Linked DNA regions of Homo sapiens: region 2 is linked to region 1. Evidence: promoter capture Hi-C in 16 types of primary human blood cells and fetal thymus (Javierre and others, 2016). All regions are on one chromosome and are shown on one strand. Each heading gives the region's core, a stretch centred on a gene start or on the middle of the fragment in contact. The rest is flanking DNA. Distances are from core to core; before and after follow the strand shown.

The links. Contacts are between HindIII fragments. The CHiCAGO score rates a contact against its expected background, and 5 or more counts as called.
Region 2: a contact is called between a fragment that was not itself captured here and the fragment with the promoter of APPL1 in region 1, in 1 of 17 cell types (M0 macrophages). The highest score is 6.8, in M0 macrophages.

What each region holds. Positions count from the first base shown.
Region 1 is chr3:57,224,107-57,231,541 of GRCh38, forward strand. APPL1 (adaptor protein, phosphotyrosine interacting with PH domain and leucine zipper 1) reads left to right here and starts at 3,623. Exons shown (of 22, transcript NM_012096.3): 1 at 3,623-3,831. The coding sequence starts at 3,778. It also overlaps a transcript of HESX1 not described here. RefSeq lists a silencer at 3,421-4,080. The HindIII fragment of the contact is 8,451 bases long and covers 1-7,435 here.
Region 2 is chr3:56,689,196-56,696,630 of GRCh38, forward strand. No RefSeq gene overlaps it. Among named protein-coding and RNA genes, the nearest start is that of TASOR, 9.6 kb to the left of the region's middle. The HindIII fragment of the contact is 1,255 bases long and covers 3,551-4,805 here.

The DNA of each region.
Region 1 (7,435 bases), core at 2,373-4,872:
CTCAGCCTCCCGAGTAGCTGGGATAATAGGAACCTGCCACCACATCCAGCTAATTTTTGCAGAGACGGGGTTTCACTATGTTGCCCAGCCTGGTCTTGAACTCTTGACCTCAGGTGATCCACCCGCCTCGGCCTCCCGAAGTGCTGGGATTACAGGCATGAGCCACTGCACCAGGCCAATTTTTTAAAATTTTAATTTAATTTAATTTTTTTTTGTAGAGATGGTGTCTCTGTGTTGCCCAGGCTAGTCTCAAACTCCAGAGCTTAAGCAATCCTTCCACCTTGACCTCCCAAAGTGCTAGGATTACAAGCATGAGCTACTGTGCCCACCTGACTCTTTAAAAATTTTTTTTAAATACAAAGTGATTTAGGAAAGGGAAATGATCATTCTCCATCTTGGATAGAGTTTTTCCTCATGTGGTTTGTGGATTACCCACTTCAGACTTAACTGGAGAGATTCCCAGCCCTGACTCTGACCTACTACACCAAAATCTTCCAGCAGGGCTCAGGAATCTGTATGCTAACAACCTTCCCAGATAACTTTTATGTGTGCATTAAGTTTGGAAACCACTGACCTAAAGGGATAATTTTTAAAAGTAAAGCACCAGCATCACTTGGGTTATTGGATTCTTTCCTATTACAGATCACAGACCAGAACTTCAAGGAGTATCATGTAAAAACCTAATTATAAGACCAAATATAATTTTAGGAGACTAATAATTAACAACTCTATTTACAAGACTGTACGTCCTTTTGTTGTAAATTATACGTGTGAAATGTCTCAAGGTATATATGTGAAACATCTCAAAGAAATCTTTAGTGGATGTTGTTTAATCCTGACTTGCTTTCCATAAAATTAACCAGTTGCCCAAAGTTTTTACTCTACTACCCACACGAGTCGCCAGTAACCCCTAAGGCATTCTCTGAACAAGCCTCATTTCCTGTATGAAAGAAAACTGGCTTAAAATGAACTGAGTTTGGTTAACTGCACAAAACGTAGGCTGAATAAACTTAAAGTGGTTATCAAAAAGGACTATGAATTTTGCAGCTTTGGAGATGTTTTAACTTAGGAAATACAACCATATTTTTGGATGAGCAGGGTATACAGTGGCCTAAAGCTAGAGAATCCAAATGGAAGGTTAAAACTGGATTCTAGTACAAATAGGTTAAAACTAGATTTGACTAAACCTACCTCTCCATCCAACTGAATGTGAACCTGTTTTTGTTTGTTTTATTTTTTCATTTTTATTTATTTTTTGTTTTTGAGACAGAGTTTCGCTCTGTCGCCCAGGCTGGAGTGCAGTTTCGGCTCACTGCAACCTCCACCTCCCGGGTTCAAGCGATTCTCCTGCCTCAGCTTCCCAAAGAGCTGGAACTACAGGCGTGTGCCACCATGCCCAGCTAATTTTTGTATTTTTGGTAGAGACGGGGTTTCACCAGTTGGCCAGGATGGTCTCCATCTCTTGACCTCTTGATCCGCCTGCCTCAGCCTCCCAAAGTGCTGGGATTACAGGCGTGAGCCCCACCGCGCCCAGCCTGTTTTATTTTTTAACCAGCTGAGTCCGGCAAGAATTCCTTGCCATTCTGCGATAATGTAATGGCCTCTTGAGAGTCCTTTACAGAAACACAGTTTAGATGTACATAACATACTAAGAAGGAAACCATTTAACTTGACAATACCACACCCAGATAATTCAGATAACTAATCGAATTTTTCATCGGAATTATTTGGTTTGGCCAAGTTAATTAGGTAACAAATACTTTTCTTTTCTTTTCTTTTTTTTTTTTTTTTTGATACGTAGTCTTGCTCTGTCGCCCAGGCCGGAGCGCAGTGGTATGATCTCAGCTCACTGCACCTGGGCCTCCCGGCTTCAACTGAGTCTCCTGCCTCAGCCGCCTGAGTAGCTGGGACTACAGGCACGCCACCACGCCCGGCTAATTTTTGTATTGTTAGTAGAGACTGGGTTTCGCCATGTTGGGCAGGCTGGTCTTGAACTCCTGACCTCAGGTGATCCAGCTGCCACGGCCTCCCAAATTGCTGGGATTACAGGCGTGAGCCACAGCGCCAGGCCTTTTTTTTTTTCTTTCTTATACATTGTTTACACTCCTCACTTACTCCTGATTCTTAACAGTTGCCACAACCTTTCTTCATTTAAAATCTAACTCAGTTCAATCAGGAAGGTCACTTACCTTGAAAGTCTTCCTTCTTTAGAGCTGGGGTGCATGGTGTTCTTGTTGGCAGAGTAGAAATGAGATATCAAGGAAAAAGAAACTGTAACACAACTGGGAACCCTTAACTCATTGTAAGAACTGCCTCCAAATCAACTTCCTCAAAAACTAAAGAACTCTTCGGGAGAGAGAGACTGGCTGATAAACAATCTAAGGGGAAAACTTTTAAAGATTGTAACACTAAAAATAATTCCGTAAAACTACAATGCAAGTCTACTCAACAAAACTTTAAAAATATAATTTTATTTTTCTTTCAAGAGATCATGGGAAAATCTACTATTTTCGTTTAAAATATATAACTTCTATTTGTTACTATATTTGGATTTGAGCTACTACTATTCTGGATTTGTTCCCATGTATCTGTGGAACCAGGCAGCTAATTAATCTTTACTCAGCATCTCTGGTATTTCTTGAATGAAAATGGAATGGATTGGTGGAATTAATGGCTAGATGTTTAGAAGACACTACTTACTTTGTTATTTTCTCTGTATAATGATGAAAGCCTACAACTATACAGAGACATAAACGAGCCAGGGTGACAGGTTGGGAAAGATGAAGAGGGAGGAGGAAAGGATAGGCTTGTAGCCCTCATCCGGTCAAATTCCCAACTTTGAGCTTCACTTTATTGTAAAATTAGAGGCTAAAACTATTTAACGCTTCCAAAACTTTTTGATTCAACAAATGCCAATTAGTTACTAACATAATTAATCAGTGTATCCTGATTTTTAAAAGATATTTTCCTTTGTGATTTAAAAGAAACATGGGAGTTGGAGTTGCAGCGTCAGTCCTGAAGGACTGACCTCGGGAGGCCAGGTAGGAACTGATAAACTGGCAACAAAATCACATGTTTTCAACTGAATATACTGATATTCAAGCGTCCAGAAAAACAATTTCGAGCCTACGTTCACAAGTTTGCCAGAAAGCCCTATTATTGACACAGCTGCGGATCTCAGACATCTGAGTTAGTCAGCACCATTCTGCTGGAGGGGATTAAGACTGGACGCTTCGAGCGGAGTTGGGAATGTTATCATCTGAGGAAACTAAAAGGCGCCAGCAGTAGGACTTTCTCCAAGGTCTCTGACAAAATATGTTGCGGGAAAAGTCAACCCGCCCCAAATTCCCCCGTGTGGCCCTAACTCGAGGCTCTGGCTCCTCGCGCCGGCAAGCTGAGGAAGAGACGGTCCCCTGCGATTTAGATACAAACGCGCGCGTGCAGGGAAGGCCATCCCAGGGCAGACACTGCCACCTCCGCCGCTTCCGACGCCCGCGCTCGCGGGAGAGCCTAGCGCCGCACGGGAACCTCCCGACCACCGCCGCAGCGCGGATGGGCGTCCCCGGGAGCCAATGGACGCGCCGGGAGGCGGGGCAGGGAGGCCGAGGGGGCGGGATTTCCCGCACGGCCGCTCGGCGCCTGGAGAAGGCTGTGCGGGCGGGGACGGCTGCAGCCCTTGCCGGAGAGGGCGGGCCGGGGTCAGCTGCGGCGGGCGGGCCGGCGCGGGGAGCTGTGGGCGGCAGCTGCGTCTCCTGCCACCGCCCTCCCTCCGCCACGATGCCGGGGATCGACAAGCTGCCCATCGAGGAGACGCTGGAGGACAGCCCGCAGGTGAGGCGCGGGAGCTGGTGGGCGACGAGGGAGAGCCCAGCTGGCCGACCCCAGGTCTGGCGCCTCCGCGGCTCCCGCAGGTGCCCGCCCCGGCCCAGGTGGGGGCCGCCGCCGCCCTAGGTCACCGCCCGTCGCAGGCCGCGCCCGGAGTTGTGGAGGCTGGGCCCGCCGCCCAAGGCCCGCGTGGGCCTGCTCGGCTGGGCCGAGGGCCGCAGGCGGAGACCGAGCCGCTGGTGCTCGTGGGCCGGGCGGTCACGTACGCGCGCGGGTCCTTTTTATTTGACGAAAGGCGCCGTTTTTATCGCGGTGATGTGAGGTGCCAAATCTCGATCCTGGAATTTTCTCCCTGAGAACCTCTTCAGAAAAATTGCAGAAGGGAGAGAAACCCCGATAGTCTTATTTAATGATTTCCGAGGCTCAGCAAGCTAAGGAAGGAAATGGATCGTTTTTCTTTGGGAGAGGCTGTAAGGTTGTGTGTGGAGCCCTAATGGCAAAGCCCGTGACGGGTCCCGGAGCCCAAGACCGCTCTCCCCGCCGAATGTGCCCGTGTCGCGGCCGTGACTGTGGTCGCTGTCACTCGAGCTGTGCACGGCGAGGGATGGACGGTGCCTTCGCCGCTCCGCGACTGCTGCGCTGCTCCCTGCAGACTTGGCCTTAATAAACTCATCAAAATAAAAGCCCTGTGTTCTGTGCGTCGGAATGATGCTGATGTGGTTGCTCTAGCTTAAGACAGTTTTGGAAAATGTAACCATTTAATATGTTTTCAGTACTGCAGAATGAAAGCAGCTATATTTTTTAAAATGTTGGCAGGGGCTGTAACTTGCATAGGGAAAACTTCATCTCTAAGCCGTTTTACACGATAATTTAAACGGTTTAAGACGGTGTTGCTGGTTGGACACTATTTAGAATGAAACATTTCTGAATTGTTGCTGATTTAGAAATGCAGTTGCACCATTTCGTGTGTCTTTACAGTTGAACATGGCCCCCAAAGAAGAAAAGCAGAAGAGGTCTAGATCTCCTTTTCCTGGATGGCACTTCTGCCATGGATTTTGTGCCAATGTTAATTGCCAAGTTGAAATGGGGCTCTGATTGTAGAATTGATTTGTTCTTTTTTATTCTGAAAGTTATCTTCACAGGCCAGTTGCCTGCTGCTAATGTACTCTTAACAGCTGATAGTGACAAAAAGAGAAACTCACATTTGGTTTATCTTGACTGCCAGTATACTCGGTTCAATTTTTTTCTTGATGATTTCTCCATATAAAGTTATAAACTGTATTTGTTTCAGATGATTTGCAAAAAGTTTGTGGAATTGGTCAGGTGTACTTTGTCATTTTACTTTTTATTATGTAAGATTCAACAGGTTGCCTTACCTTTCTTCTCTTACTTGGCTTTTTTTTTTAATAGCCCATAAAGACTATAAACGGCTCAGAATGGATTGCACACTGCCCTGGAAATGACTTGTGAGGCAGAGATAAACTCTTGACTCATCTAATGTCTTGAGGTTTTTGCCAGATTAGTTTACAACTTAAGAATTGTGGTTTTTTTTTTTCTTTACAAGCATGCATCATACTAGTGTCCGTTTTACAATATATTTGTTTGTTTTTTGAGATGGGGATCTTGCTATGTTTCCCAGTCTGGAGAGCAATGGCTGTTCACAGACACTATCGTAGTGCACTGTGTCCTGGAACACCTATGCTGAAGTGATCCTCCTGCCTCAGCCTCCCTAGCAGCTGGGAATACAGGCGTGTGCCACTGTGCCAGCTTTTTTTTTTTTTTTTTTTTTTTTTTTTCCTGAGACGGGGTTTTGCTCTTGTTGCCCAGGCTGGAGTGCAATGTTGCAATCTTGGCTCACTGCAACCTCTGCCTCCCGGGTTCAAGTGATTCTCATGCCTCAGCCTCCTGAGTAGCTGGGATTACAGACGTGTGCCACCACGCCCACCTAGTTTTTGTACTTTTTGTAGAGACGGGGTTTTGCCATGTTGGCCAGGCTGGTCTCGAACTCCTGACCTCAGGTGATCTGCCCGCCTTGGCCTCTCAAAGTGCTGGGATTACAGGTGTGAGCCACTGCGCCTGGCCTGTGCCAGCTAATTTTTAATGAAGTAGACACATTGATATCCCTTCAATGTTGAAAGGCAATAAATTTGAACTAGGTAAAATTTACTTGGGAAAATTAATTGGTACAACTGGGATTTAGGAAGTGTACATACTTGGAGGTGATTCTTAGGTCGAACCTGTGGCAGAATGCAAAGCCTTGGATCTAGGGTTGACGAGGTTTTTAGTCATCACTGCCACTTTACTACCTTCTGCTTTAGGGCAAATCATTCAACTTCTCTGAACCTCAGCTGTTGTGTCTTAATGACATGTTTTTATTTTTGACCCTGATTAAAAAGAAATAATAGTTGCTTCCTTCAGAAAAATTGGAAGGTCCAGAAAAGAATAACACACAATTACCTGTTGGTTACCCAGCAAAACCTTATTAACAGTTTGCTTTCTTTATTCTACTGTTTTTTTTTTCTTCTACATGTTTTAATGGAATTGAGATTATATTGTGCATAATGATCTTTATCCTGCTTTTAACTTAACATTATCACTTAAGTATCTTCACATGTTTTTACATTCCAAATAAAAACATTTGAAGACCACACATTTCCTTAACTGATTTCACAACCCTTTGCTGGACTTTTAGAGTTTTCCCAAAGTTTTGCTTTTATAAATAGGGCTGAGATTAATGCTTTGGAGCATAAATTTTCTTCTCAGTTTGAACTATTTTATCTAGAATAGAGTCCAAGAAGCAGAGCAGCAAAGAATATGAAGACTTTTAAAGCTCATGGTAAGTTTTTTGTTTTTTTTTTGAGACAGAGTCTCACTGTCACGTAGGTTGGATTGCAGTGGCACAGCCATAGCTCTGAAACCTCAAACTCCTGGGCACACGCCACCAAGCTCAGCTAATTTTATTTTATTTTATTTTTATTTTTTGGAGATGGAGTTTCGCTCTTGTCGCCTAGGCTAGAGTGCAGTGGCATGATCTTGGCTCACTGCAACCTCCACCTCCCGGGTTCAAGTGATTCTGCTTCCTCAGCCTCCCAAGTAGCCCAACTAATCTAAAAATTTTTTGTAGAAGACTGGGCGTGGTGGCTCATGCCTGTAATCTCAGCACTTTGGGAGGACGAGGCAGGTGAATCACGAGGTCAGGAGTTTGAGACCGACCTGGCCAACATAGTGAAACCCCGTCTCTCCTAAAAATACAAAAAATTAGCCGGGCGTGGTGGTGGACGTCTGTAATCCCAGCTACTCGGGAAGCTGAGGCAGGAGAATCACTTGAACCCGGGAGGCGGGGGTTGCAGTGAGCCGAAATTGTACCGTTGCACTCCAGCCCGGGCAACCGTGCGAGACTCCGTCTCAAAAAAAAAAAAAAAAAAAAAGAAAATTTTTTTTTTGTAAAGACAGGTTTTCACTATGTTGGCCAGGCTAGTCTTGAACTCCTGGCCTTAGTGCTGGGATTACAGATGTGAGCCACTGTACCAGGCCCTAAAAGTTTTTTGTTTGATTAGTTTTTAATTTTTTTTAGATCATTTAGATCTAATCAAAAGTGGCCTGCCAGTTG
Region 2 (7,435 bases), core at 2,928-5,427, 530 kb before region 1:
CCTCGGCCTCCCCAAGTGCTGGGATTACATGCGTGAACCACCACATCCGGCTGAACTATATACTTTAAAAAGATGAATTTTATAATATGTGAATTATATCTCAAGGTGGTGGGGAGGACTAGGCATTCCTTGAGGTCAGAGACTCCAAGCAGCAGAAACTCTCTCCTGTTGCTGGGTTTGAACAAACAAGCTGCCATGAGTTTTATAGCTGCCAACAACTTGAAGGAATTTGGGAGCGAACCCTTTTGTAGTTGAGTCTCCAGGTGAGAATGCAGCCCAGCTGCATGATTCTAGCCTTGTGAGACTCTGAGCACAGACCCCAGCTAAGCCATGCCTGGACTTCTGACCTGCAGAAACTGTGAGCTAATACAGTATTGTTCTAAGCCACCAGGTTTGTGTTAGTTGTTATGCAGTAATAGAAAACTAATACAGAGGTCACAATATGCCTGGCATTTTCTTTTTCTTTCTTTCTTTTTTTTTCTTTTTTTTTTTTTTTTTTTTGAGAGGGGTCTTGCTCTGTCACCCAGGCTGGAGTGCAATGACACAATCTCGGCTCACTACAACCTCCACCTCCCAGGTTCAAGCAATTCTTCTGCCTTGGGCTCCCGAGTAGGTGGGATTACAGGCACACGCCACCAGGCCCAGCTAATTTTTGTATTTTTAGTAGAGACGGGGTTTCACCATGATGGCCAGGCTGGTCTTGAACTCCTGACATCAGGTGATCTGCCTGCCTCGGCCTCCCAAAGTGCTGGGATTACAGGCGTGCACCACTGCGCCCAGCCATGCCTGGCATTTTCTAAGTGCTTGCCTGGCATTTTCTAAGTGCTGTGTGTGTGTGTGTGTGTGTGTGTGTGTGTGTGTGTGTGTGTTTTTGAGACGGAATCTCGCTCTGTCGCCCAGGCTGGAGTGCAGCAGCGCGATCTCACCTCACTGCAACCTCTTGCCTCCCAGGCTCAAGCGATTCTGCTGCCTGCCTCAACCTCCCAAGTAGCTGGGACTACAGGCGCGATGCCATCACACCCGGCTATTTTTTTGTGTTTTTAGTAGAGATGGGGTTTCACCATGTTAGCCAGGATGGTCTCGATCTCCTGACCTCGTGATCTGCCTACCTCGGCCTCCCAAAGTGCTGGGATTACAGGTGTGAGTCACCGCGCCCGGCCAGTGCTTTGTATATTTTAACTCATTTGATTTTCACAACAACGCTATGAGGTAAGTACTCACATTATTCCCATTTTTCTAATAAAGAAGCTCATTAGGTGCTAAGTGTTTAAAAAAAAAACTGGCTGGGTGCAGTGGCTCACATCTGTAATCCCAGCACTTTGGGAGGCCAAAGGCAGGTGGATCACAAGGTCAGGAGTTCAAGACCAGCCTCGCCAACATAGTGAAACCCCATCTCTACTAAAAATACAAAAATTAGCCAGGCATGGTGGTGCACGCCTGTAATCCCAGCTACTCGGGAGGCTGAGGCAGGAGAATTGCTTGAACCCAGGAGGCAGAGATGGCAGTGAGCCAAGATCACACCACTACACGCCAGCCTGGGTGACAGAGAAAGACTCCATCTCAAAAAAAAAAAAAAACAAAAAAAAAAACGAAAAACAAAAAACAAGGCGCAGAACAGGATGAATAGAGGGTTAGTATTTATATCAAAAAATGGGAAATACAGTGAAATATATACAAATATTTACATCTATTTGCATAAAACTTTACTGGAAGTCTACATAAGTAGCTAGCAATATTGATTGCCTATGGAAAGGGAACAGGGGCTAGAAGATAGAGATGGGAGAGACTTTTCCCTCTATGTCCTTTCATACTTTTCATGTAAAAGACAGGTTAAAAAAAAATATATATATATATATATTCTTTTTTTTTTTTTTGAGACAGGGTCTCCCTCTGTCATGTCATGGCTCACCCAGCCTTGACCTCGTGGGCTCCAATGATCCTCCTGCCACAGCCTCCGAGTAGCTGGGACTACAGGTGTGTACCACCATACCTGGCTAATTTTCTTATTTTTTGTAGATATTGGGGTCTTACTGTGTTGCCCAGACTGGTCTCAAACTCCTAGGCTCAAGCAATCCTCCTGCCTCAGCATCCCAAAGTGCTAGGATTATAGGCATAAGCCACCATGCTTGGCCAAAAGATGTGATTTTTGATGCTCACATATATCTTGAGCCTTGTAGGTCACACAGCTAGGAGGCTTTTTGTTTTTTAACATTTTCATTTAAAGACAGTAGTAAAGATAATAAAGTCCAGTCAACAAAAAAGTACCACTAACATCTAATTCATAGAACTTTAAGGATCTTAATTAGTTTGATTCATTTTATGGATGAAGAAAATATTACAAGGTTACAACTCCACTGTCCATTCAGATGCATTAAAAAATGTGAAATTGTCATTCCCTCCATATATTGAGCAACAATAATTCTACTTCCAAGGAGTCATCCTCTTTCCCCAAAGGGTTTTTCTGGTTACTCATTGAGCAAATATTTCTTAGGTGTGTCCTAGTGAGAGGTGACAGCGTGCTAGCAGTCCTCACAGCCCTCACTGGCTCTGGGCGCCTCCTCTGCCTGGGCTCCCAATTTGGCGGCACTTGAGGAGTCCTTCAGCCCACCGCTGCACTGTGGGAGCCCCTTTCTGGGCTGGCCAAGGCCAGAGCCAGCTCCCTCAGCTTGCAGGGAGGTGTGGAGGGAGAGCCGCAAGCGGGAACCCGGGCTGCCCGCGGCGCTTGCTGGCCAGCTGGAGTTCCGTGTGGGCGCGGGCTTGGCGGCCCCACACTCGGAGCAGCCGGCCGGCCCTGCCGGCCCCGGGCAATGAGGGGCTTAGCACCCGGGCCAGTGGCTGCGGAGGGTGTAGTGGGTCCCCCAGCAGTGCCAGCCCACCGGCGATGCGCTCGATTTCTCACCCGGCCTTAGCTGCCTTCCCACGGGGCAGGACTCAGGACCTGCAGCCCGCCATGCCTGAGCCTCCCACCCCCTCCATGGGCTCCTGTGCTGACCCGAGCCTCCCCGATGAGCGCCGCCCCCTGCTCCACGGCGCCCAGTTCCATCGACCACCCAAGGGCTGAGGAGTGCGGGCGCAAGGGGCGGGACTGGCAGGCAGCTCCACCTGCAGCCCCAGTGCGGGATCCACTGGGTGAAGCCAGCTGGGCTCCTGAGTCTGGTGGGGACGTGGAGAACCTTTATGTCTAGCTCAGGGATTGTAAATACACCAATCGGCACTCTGTATCTAGCTCAAGGTTTGTAAACACACCAATCAGCACCCTGTGTCTAGCTCAGGGTTTGTGAATGCACCAATCGACACTCTGTATTTAGCTACTCTGGTGGGGCCTTGGAGAACCTTTGTGTCCACACTCTGTATCTAGCTAATCTAGTGGGGACGTGGAGGACCTCTGTGTCTAGCTCAGGGATTGTAAACGCACCAGTCAGCGCCCTGTCAAAACAGACCACTTGGCTCTACCAATCAGCAGGATGTGGGTGGGGCCAGATAAGAGAATAAAAGCAGGCTGCCCTAGCCAGCAGTGGCAACCTACTCGGGTCCCCTTCCACACTGTGGAAGCTTTGTTCTTTCGCTCTGCAATAAATCTTGCTACTGCTCACTCTTTGGGTCCACACTGCTTTTATGAGCTGTAACACTCACTGCGAAGGTCTGCAGCTTCACTCCTGAGCCAGCGAGACCATGAACCCACCAGAAGGAAAAAACTCCGAACACAGCCGAACATCAGAAGGAACAAACTCCAGACGTGCCACCTCAAGAGATGTAACACTCACCGCAAGGGTCCGCGGCTTCATTCTTGAAGTCAGTGAGACCAAGAACCCACCAATTCCGGACACACTAGGGAAGCCTGAAAAAGACCCTCTTAATTTGGCAAGAAACCATGTTGAAGTTGATTCCTGGTTAATGACTGGAAGAAAAACTTCCATGCAATGAGGAGAAGCAACAAAAGGGAGAAATTCAATTGAAAAAAAGAATATAGTTAGCAATGAACAAGAAGCAAGTGTCCTCTCACCAACACAGCTGACTCTGGTAACCACAAACCTCAGCTAAACCCAGAAGTCAAGAGCTGTCACTTAAGTTTTGTTTCATTTCTGAGTGAAACCCTTCTAAGACTTTATTACATGCAATGCCATGGATTAATGTCATAGACATAATGTTAAATGAAAGACGTACTGTATGATCCCATTTACATGATGTTCAAGGACAGACAAAAATAATCTATGGTAATAAAAGAATTGTGGTTCCCTTGTGGGGGTGAAGATGTACTGTATGATCCCATTTACATGACGTTCAAGGACAGACAAAAATAATCTATGGTAGTAAAGGAATTGTGGTTCCCTTTTTGGAGTGGGGGTGGTAGGTAATTGACTCAAAGGGGACATGAAGGAACTTTCTGGAATGATGGAAATGCTCTGTATCTTGATCTGGGTGGTAGTTATACAGACAGGGGCATACACATATAAGTATTCATTGAACTGTATGCATAGAGTTGCATTTTATTCTGTGATGTTATTCTTCAATTAAATAAACAAAAACAAAACTTTTCTATGGATTCTCATTATTCCAGGGACAAAGATAAGAATTCTTCATGTGGGCAATGGACCCTTACTGATTCTGACCTTTGCCTGCCTTTCCATCTTGCACTTCACTTCCCTAAGCTCCTCCTTGGTTCTTCCTATGTCTGGCACACTTGCCAAACTCCCTGGCCATGCAATCAACCTCAGCACATGATATGTTTCCTGTGTGGGATGTTATTCTTCCCCGTGCCACCCTCTTCTCCAGTTCCAGTAAGCTACTGCACTTCCTTTGGCTGAAGCTTCACTTCCCTGTGTGAACTTCTTTCATAATCGGCCCCCCATTCTAGGTCGAGTTCCCCATTGGATGCTCTTACAGAATTTTGCTCCTTTTACTCAGACCATTTACCTCCCAATTTCCTCAATTTGTAATTACTCCCTCATTTGTGGGACTATTTAATTAAATCTGTCTCTCTCACTACAGTCTGTGCCATACCATGGACTGAGGGTCAATGTCTGGGTTCTGCTTACCATGGTATCCCCAGGGCTCACCACAGTGCCTGGAACACAGTAAGTGTTTACTAAATATGTTTTTGGGCCGGGCGCAGTGGCTCACGCCTGTAATCCCAGCACTTTGGGAGGCCAAGGCAGGTGGATCACGAGGTCAGAAGATCAAGACCCTCCTGGCTAACAGGGTGAAACCCCATCTCTACTAAAAATACAAAAAAAAAAAAAAAAACTTAGCCAGGCGTGGTGGCGGGCACCTGTAGTCCCAGATACTTGGGAGGCTGAAGCAGGAGAATGGCGTGAACCTAGGAGGTGGAGCTTGCAGTGAGCTGAGGTCACGCCACTGCACTCCAGCCTGGGCGACAGAGCTAGACTTAAATAAATAAATAAATATGTTTTTGACTCCTGAGGATAAAGTGACTATCTGATATTCTCTGGCAGAAAAATTGTTGATGTCTCACATTACGTGATTTGGATTTATCCCCATTAAATGTTTGGTATATCTTGCTTTAAGCAAACTGAATCCATTATATGGAAATCTGTATTTATTCAAAATATAAATTAGAGTGCATGTACTCAAATGCCTGTTACGAGATTTATACAAGTTCCAGGTGTTTTTTACTGCATTTGAAAAATAGATGAGCTTCATTTGCCAAATTCAAGCCTAGTTGAAATCAATAGGGTTTAAGAATTGGAAGTGATGGTTTTCTTCTATCAGCTGACTGGCCAGTATAGACGCAGTTATAGAGTCATTTACACCACTGCCATTATCATCTGAACAAAGATCTAAATTTATACTAACTTCACGTTGTGGTTGGTGGAGCTCTGTAAGTAAGAAGGAGGCTGGTGCCAACAATCCAAGTTACACAAAGAGAAAAAAAATGCTCAAGAGGAAGTGGTACACTACAAAAGTGCAAACGTAGGTGGAATGTGTGAAAAAAAAAATTTTCAAATTAAAAGTGTCTTCGATTTTATGTTTTTATGATAAAAGAGGCCAAAAGAAAGTTGTCTGGAACTTCCTATTTTCAAGATAACCCATCTCAGCACTCAATTTGGAAGACAGTGAATAAGTTGGAGGAAAAGAAGTAACAATACAGAGAGAACATGTGAATAACACCTTGCAATTTACCAAATGCTTCACTTATTCTCTCAACCTGCTACCAGGCCCTAAGATGGGCTTCTGAGGTTACAGCTGTAAACAAGCAGATCCATCCTGACCCTGTTTGTTTTCTGATGCTTCTATACCCATTGCCTCATTTAATCTTCCCAGCATTGTCAGAGAAACATTGTTACATTTGTCAGATGAGGAAATGGTAACTTAACTGCCTTGCTCAAGGAAACATCACCAGTAAGTGAGGGAACAGGACTCAGATTTGCCTCCTAAATCTAATTGCAAACCCTTGCAACTACCCCAGTTCTACTTGCTTATAGGCCTCTGGGATGGCTACTTTGTTAATCAAGACTCTCAATGGAAATCAAGAAAAATTACAAAGTTACCCACTGGGCATTTTAATCATTCCTCTATGTATCATTTCTCTCCCTTGTTTTGTCCTTTCATTTTTCTGAGTGAACAGGAATATTCCCACCAACTCCCTTAAAAACACAAGTTTCTTCACTAATTTCTCGTAGCTCCTACAGATTTATATATGATTTCTGGGCAGACAGAAGTAATCAAAGTCATCCAATTTCTTTGGCTGACCAATAACTAAATTGAGAGCTGCTTCCCTTTTAAGTCACATGATTCAGGTTATTGTTTTATTATTTGGTGCTTCATAGTACCAGAAAGGTATTCAGACTTAATTTTGGACATTTTCTCCCCAGTCCATAAAAGCCTGGTAATAAAAAGATATTTGACATGACCTTTTGCTATATGGTTGGTGCTACAAAATGCTGATTTTAAGAGAAATTAGCAAAAGTACATCAACATATGAAGAGATGAACAAGATATCTTACATTTATACAATGGAATATTATTTGTCCATAAAAAGGAGTGAAGAACTGATACATCCTGCAACATGGATGAACCTGGAAAATACTGTGCTAAGAAAAAGAAGCCAGTCACAAAATGCTGCATATGGTATGATTCTGTTTATAGGAAATGTCCAGAACAGGGAAATCAATACAGACAGAAATTAGATCAGTGGTTTCCTAGGGCTAGGTTAATGAGGGAATTTGGGGATGATAGCTAAAGGGTACAGGTTCTTTTTAAGGTGATGAAAATGTAGTTGCATAATTCTGTGATTATCTTAAAGACGATTGAATTGTATGCTTTAAGTCAGTGAATTGTATGGTGCATGAATTATATCAATGAAACTTTTTTTTTTCATGTCTGACGGGTAATGTGCTGAAATTTATGAACTACCAAAGGATCTAAAACCGGTTTTTTATTATTTTTTATTTTTATTTATTTATTTAATTTTTTT